Linked DNA regions of Homo sapiens: region 2 is linked to region 1. The links are contacts of gene promoters, found by promoter capture Hi-C in blood cells and fetal thymus (Javierre and others, 2016). All regions are on one chromosome and are shown on one strand. The core of a region is centred on a gene start or on the middle of the fragment in contact, and the rest is flanking DNA. Distances in the headings are between cores, read along the strand shown.

Region 1 (2,912 bases), core at 234-2,733:
TGCAGCTGAGGAGAGAAGCGCCGGCGTGCGCGGTGCCACGTCGGAATTGGCTCTGGGGACGCCGCAGCTGCCGAAGCGCAGCGCGCGGTCCCCACGCACGCCCTGCCTCCGGGCGGCCGGCGGGCTGGCCCGGCGAGGAGAGGAGGGATGCGCGCCCTCCTCCCGCTCCTATCTGCGGGTGCCACCGCCTGCGTCAGGGACCCCTGGCCCGAGTAAGCCCAGACTGACGAGCCTGACACTTTAATGGGGTGCGGGAAGTGCAAAGGAGGGGAGGCCCGGGAAAGGGGGGAGTGGCCGAGAGGGGATGGTAGCTGCGAGGAGGTAGAGAAGGACCCTCCTTCTCCAGGGTCCCAGCTTGTCGGAGCTGGAAGCCCAGATTGCTTAACCCTTTGCATTCCCAGCAAGAAGCGACTTTTTCACTTAGAAGTAAAACGCGCTGGGCTATTCCAGTTTTTCTCCCCACAGTGTGTGTGTGTGTGTGTGTGTGTGGGAAAAAAAGAAGGGAAGGGGTGGGGCGGCTGTGCAGAATGCATTTTCCTTACATTGGGAATTCTTGTTTCCTAACTCTGGAGCCCCTCTGCTGCTCCGGAAGATGCAAAATGGAAAAGTACATCTGAGGACGTGCAGCCTTTCCCAGGCAGAGAGGCTACCTGTGTCCCCAGAAAGGCAGCGGATTTCTGGCGAGAGCCGCAGAAATGGGAAAAGAGGGCTATGTTGCTAAGCCTGACAGTGACCTGAAATATTCCCTGATCTTCAGTCTGTTGGAAATTTTTAAACTTCCAACTTTTCTATCGAAACTGGCTTAAAAATTTTAAAACAATTATAAGGATGTCTTCCTTCTCCCTGGCCTGTTGGAGGACCTTCATCCTTCACCAAAACGCGCCAGTGTAACGTACCTTGTTCAGCTCTTGGTCATAAAGTCGTCCTCAGCCTGTCTGTGTGGTCCCGGAGGGTCGGTGGCGGGCAGTTTCCAAAATTGAGGTAATAAGAGATCAGATGAATTTGAGACGACCGGCCAAAAAAAATAAGAAATTTAAAAACAACATTTAAAAAGGATAGGGGAGTCTTAAATGTTTGATTCTTCCCCACTTTAAAAAATAATTTCACTAATATTCTCTTTATGTTTCCGTTGCACTTCAGTCTAATTCTTAAAAAAATTATGCTTTAAAAATAAATTAACTTTTCTTTTTTCTTTTCTTTTCTTTTTTTTTTTTTTTTTTTTTTGGGCTTCAGTCTTTCTGCCCCCGATAACAGAAAATCTCTTTTTCGTCTTAAAAAAAAAAAAAAAAAAAAAAAAAGCCTGTGGAAGACTCAGCAGAACCCAGGAAGCGCAGAATTGGGAGAAAAGTCTTTGGCTGGGGCTGTTTCAAGTCTCTGGTTCAATGGGCTGCTCGAAGCCAGGACTGGGTAATTCTTTCCAGACGTCTTGACTTCTCCTTCCCCGCCGTTGTTGCCCTTCTGCCTCCTCCAACTTAAGGGGGTCTTAACAAGTGAGCTGGTGGGTGTTTTAATAGGGCGGCGGAGGGAGTGGGGGGGTGAGGGAAGTGGAGAGGGAGGTGTGGACTGGGGAACCCTGAGGGGAGGGAACTGGGAGCGCGGGCGGGCGGGCGAGCGGGAGGCGGGGAGGGGGAGAGGGAGAGAGAGAAATTGGCCATTCAAAGCCTTCTCTGAGCTACAGGCCGGTTCTAAACTCCAATGAATTCAATTAACTTGATTGCTAACGTGTGCAGAGAAATGCAAGACACATAGGGGGCCACCACCTGATTCCTTACTTTCCTCTGGCGGCGGAGGTGGGAGCCCTCGCCTCTTGGATTTCCCTGAACTCCCGCGTTACAAGTTCCCTCCAAGCGATAAACTCCCTGTGGCGCTGAAGTAATTTGTTTTAAAGCCAAATGGTGCCCTTCAGCTAAGTAACCGACCCAAGGAGGAACAGTTGGGAGGGGTGTGTGCACGTGTGTGTGTGTGTGTGTAAGTGTGTGCGTGTGTGTGTGTACCTGGAGCCTTCGACAGCCGGCTGGGACTCTAAAAAGATCGCGCTGGTCCACCACTTGTTAACCCTTTCTTCCCGCCAACTCAAAAGTTTCTGAGCTGACGTCAAGTGTCAAAGCCTTTCTCATAAAGAGGTTTCTGCCGTGGGTGGGCGGAAAACATAGAAAAGTAATTATATGTATATTTTTGCTCAATCTGGTCCCCTAACGTAAACATACTCAAACAGCGCGCATTAAAAATAAAATAATAAAAATTGTTTTCTGGAGGACTTATATTTAGCCATCTTGAAGGAAATGGCTTAACTGGCTTTTGCTTTTTGCAAGCCTTCTGCAAAGTTGACGAGGACAAATATGTCTTGCTTGGAGATGGCCTTTCCTCGTCGTTTTCACAATGCCCCAAGGCTGGGTAGAGTTCGTTTTTTGGTTACTCCTCCCCCCACCACTCCGCCTCCTTTCTTTCTCTTGGACCTTGCCAACAAGCCTGCTGATGACTGAAAATGGACAGTAGGTGGCACTGTTGAGGAAAAAATGAGAGTGACTTTACAAATTAACCAACTTGGTCTTGGGAGATTGCGCTGAAATTGTTATAGGGTAAAACAGATTTTTCTTTCTTTCTTTTTTCCTTCTTCCCCTTCCAAGGATCTTCTGAGGGGTGGACTTCTTTGGAACTCGACAGGACCTTGAAGACTGGGTTCTTAGTCCTTATCACATATATGGGCTATAATGAATAAGTCTAAACAGAAAAGTCGAATAAACTGGAAATGATGCTTTCATCACGTCGCACAAGGTGTAGTGTTGGGGGATGTGATTAGGGGTCAAGCATTTTAGTGCAATACCAGGTAGTCAGCCATCCCAGTCCCCAGGGGCTGACCTGCAAAGTACTGCGCGTTTCCGCCCCCTTCCCCCCGCCCCCCCCCGCCACGC
Region 2 (2,842 bases), core at 135-2,634, 410 kb before region 1:
ATTTTTGGTTAAGATTGAATAACACTGTAGCTTATGCTTGAATGAAGCTTATTTAACATGTATTTTCTCTGAAAGACACATCACAGCCTTAAGATTAGGACAGCACTGCAGCACCATGTTTGGGGACCATTTTAAAAAGCAAAACCTCCCAGCACTTTGGGAGGCCGAGACAGGTGGCTCATGAGATTAGGAGATCGAGACCATCCTGGCTAACGTGGTGAAACCCCGTCTCTACTAAAAATACAAAATTTATCCAGGCGTAGTGGTGCACATCTGTAGTCCCAGCTACTCGGGAGGCTGAGGCAGGAGAATCGTTTGAACGCGGGAGACGGAGGCTGCAGTGAGCCGAGATTGCACCACTGCACTCCAGCCTGGGAGACAGAGCAAGACTCTACTCTGTCTCAAAAGAAAAAAAAAAAAGAAAAAAAAAAAAGAGGAAAATCACCAACAGAAATAACAAAAAGGTAAAGAAAATGTGGCACAAAATAGAGTGCAAGAAAACCCCACTCGTTTGCAGTATGATAGGTAAAACAAGAGGGCAGAGAATCGCCTTGCTTGACCTCAGCTGGGAATGTGCGACTGGAGGCTCAGTCTTTTTACAGCCTCTTTTTACATGTCTATGAATGGCTGTGAAAACACAATAGGTATCGATTTGGGGCTTGCACACATATTTTAGGAATAAATAAATTTGCAAATATGGAATTCATAAATAACGAGGACCCACTGTGTGTGTGTTTATAAGTATATATTTATATATTTAATGTGTGTGTGTGTTCGTGTATGTTAAAACCTAGCACATAAAGAAGGGGATTATAAACACAGGGGCTATATTCCACACCAGGCAGGACCAACAACGATAATCACTCTGTTACCTATTTCCACAAGAAATGAAATCACTCTAAGATTTTAGAGACTTTAAAATACTTTTTGTCAAAATATTCGAGAGGTCAGATATATAAATCACATTCACACCACACAGTGTTCTATCAGCTTGCATGCCCTTCTTATCTCTTCAACAGTGTCCTCTCTATTTCATCTCCTATTTATTTTTATTTATTTCTATTGTTTATTTTATCTCAGTTTTTTTTAATTCGTCATTTCCATAGGTTTTTTGGGACCAGATGGTGTTTGGTAAGTTCTTCAGTGGTGATTTGTGAGATTTTTGTGCACCCATCACCTGCGCAATATACACTGAACCACTGAATCCAATTTGTAGTCTGTTATCCCTCACCCCCTTCCTACCCTTCCCCCCTGAGTCCTCAAAGTCCATTGTGTCATTCTTATGCCTTTGCATCCTCATAGCTTAGCTCCCACTTACGAGCGAGAACATACGATGTTTGGTTTCCCATTCCTGAGTTACCTCCCTTAGAATAATAGTCTCCAATCCCATCCAGGTTGCTGCTAATGCCGTTAATTCATTCCTTTTATGGCTGAGTAGTATTCCATCACCTATATATCACAGTTTCTTTATCCACTTGTTTATTGATGGGCATTTGGGTTGGTTCCACATTTTTGCAACTGTGAATTGTGCTGCTATAAATAATGCGTGTGCAAGTATCTACTTTGTATAATGACTTCTTTTCCTCTGGATAGATATCCAGTAGTGCCCTTATTTCAGAACAGTAAAATAAGTTTTCCTTTTTTTCTGGGCCAGAACCTTTCTGCCACACTTTATTCTTCTCAGAGTCTCAGAATGTCTAACAGCCTCGGGGCCCATGTGAGCATTTTCTTTTCCCCAAATACAGTAAGTTCTTCTTAAGAAATTATTTATTTTCTGCCTCATTAGAAGTGTGTCATTTAGTATCATATGGAAAAGCTGTTTTTTTACAATCATGATTGCAACCATGACCCATTTATTCTGGAATCCTATCATCCCATATTTCTGAGACTTGTTCATTTCAGGATGTGTATGCTGCATCATGAAAGATTGTATTTACAACAATGTCAGCAGTGTTTGAGCACCTATAATGTTCAAATCTGTATGCTAGTTGTTGATTGGGGTCATGAATTTGAATATGCACAGTCCTGCCCTTGAATGTACCACTGAATGGGGAAAACACACATTAAATTAAATAGTTCCTCTGCAAAGCAGATTATGAACAATGTGAAGGTAGAGGGATGAAGGAACAAAGATGGTGCTGAACCATTAAGTGTGGGAGGCTGCAGATTATGGAGACCCCCCTGGGGGGTTGAGACTTGGAGGGAGATCAGAGCTTTGCTTAAAGATGGCTCTCCTTTATATCTTAGGAATGATGTCTTGGTAATGCTAACTTAGTTTGGGCTTCTTCCTCTTAGTTAGGTTTCCTCCAAAGTGATGCCTGAGACATGACTTGGGTAAAAGTAGTTTATTTAGGAAGTGACCCCAGAAAGCAGGAGAAAGGGAGTAAAGGGAGTGCAATGGGGAAGGAGAAAAAGCAAAATGAGAGAGCGTTATTGAGGTTGCTGCGGCAGGGAACAAGAACTTGATCCTACCTGAATCTTTGAGAAATGTACAGATATGACCTTGAATTGTCCACTCAAAGGACAGGAAGCTGGAAAAGTTATCCTCTGTTTTCAGTTTCACATTAGTTGAATTATGTTCCTGTGATTCTTAACTCCCCTGTATTTCTGGATGCAATTATGGGATGGTCAAATTGGCTCTTGTGACATCAGAAATGGCACTTGGGCAGGAAGCAGAAGAGAGGAGAGTGTATTTGAAGAAGGGTCACCTCCAGGTAAGTATAAGCTTCCATTGTAATGTGCACCAGAGCTGCAGCTACAACCAGGGAAGGCTGAAAGGCTATGGCACAGAGCAGCAAAGATACCTGCTAGAAGTACAAAAGATGTCCAAAGGTGTTCAGGA

The links. The method cuts DNA at HindIII sites, captures the fragments that hold promoters and counts their contacts. A CHiCAGO score of 5 or more calls a contact.
Region 2: a contact is called between a fragment that was not itself captured here and the fragment with the promoter of HAS2 in region 1, in 1 of 17 cell types (monocytes). The highest score is 5.6, in monocytes.

The regions. Positions count from the first base shown.
Region 1 is chr8:121,639,957-121,642,868 of GRCh38, forward strand. HAS2 (hyaluronan synthase 2) reads right to left here and starts at 1,484. Exons shown (of 4, transcript NM_005328.3): 1 at 897-1,484. It also overlaps HAS2-AS1. RefSeq lists an enhancer at 2,143-2,766. The HindIII fragment of the contact is 9,649 bases long and covers 1-2,912 here.
Region 2 is chr8:121,229,119-121,231,960 of GRCh38, forward strand. No RefSeq gene overlaps it. Among named protein-coding and RNA genes, the nearest start is that of HAS2, 410 kb to the right of the region's middle. The HindIII fragment of the contact is 2,678 bases long and covers 46-2,723 here.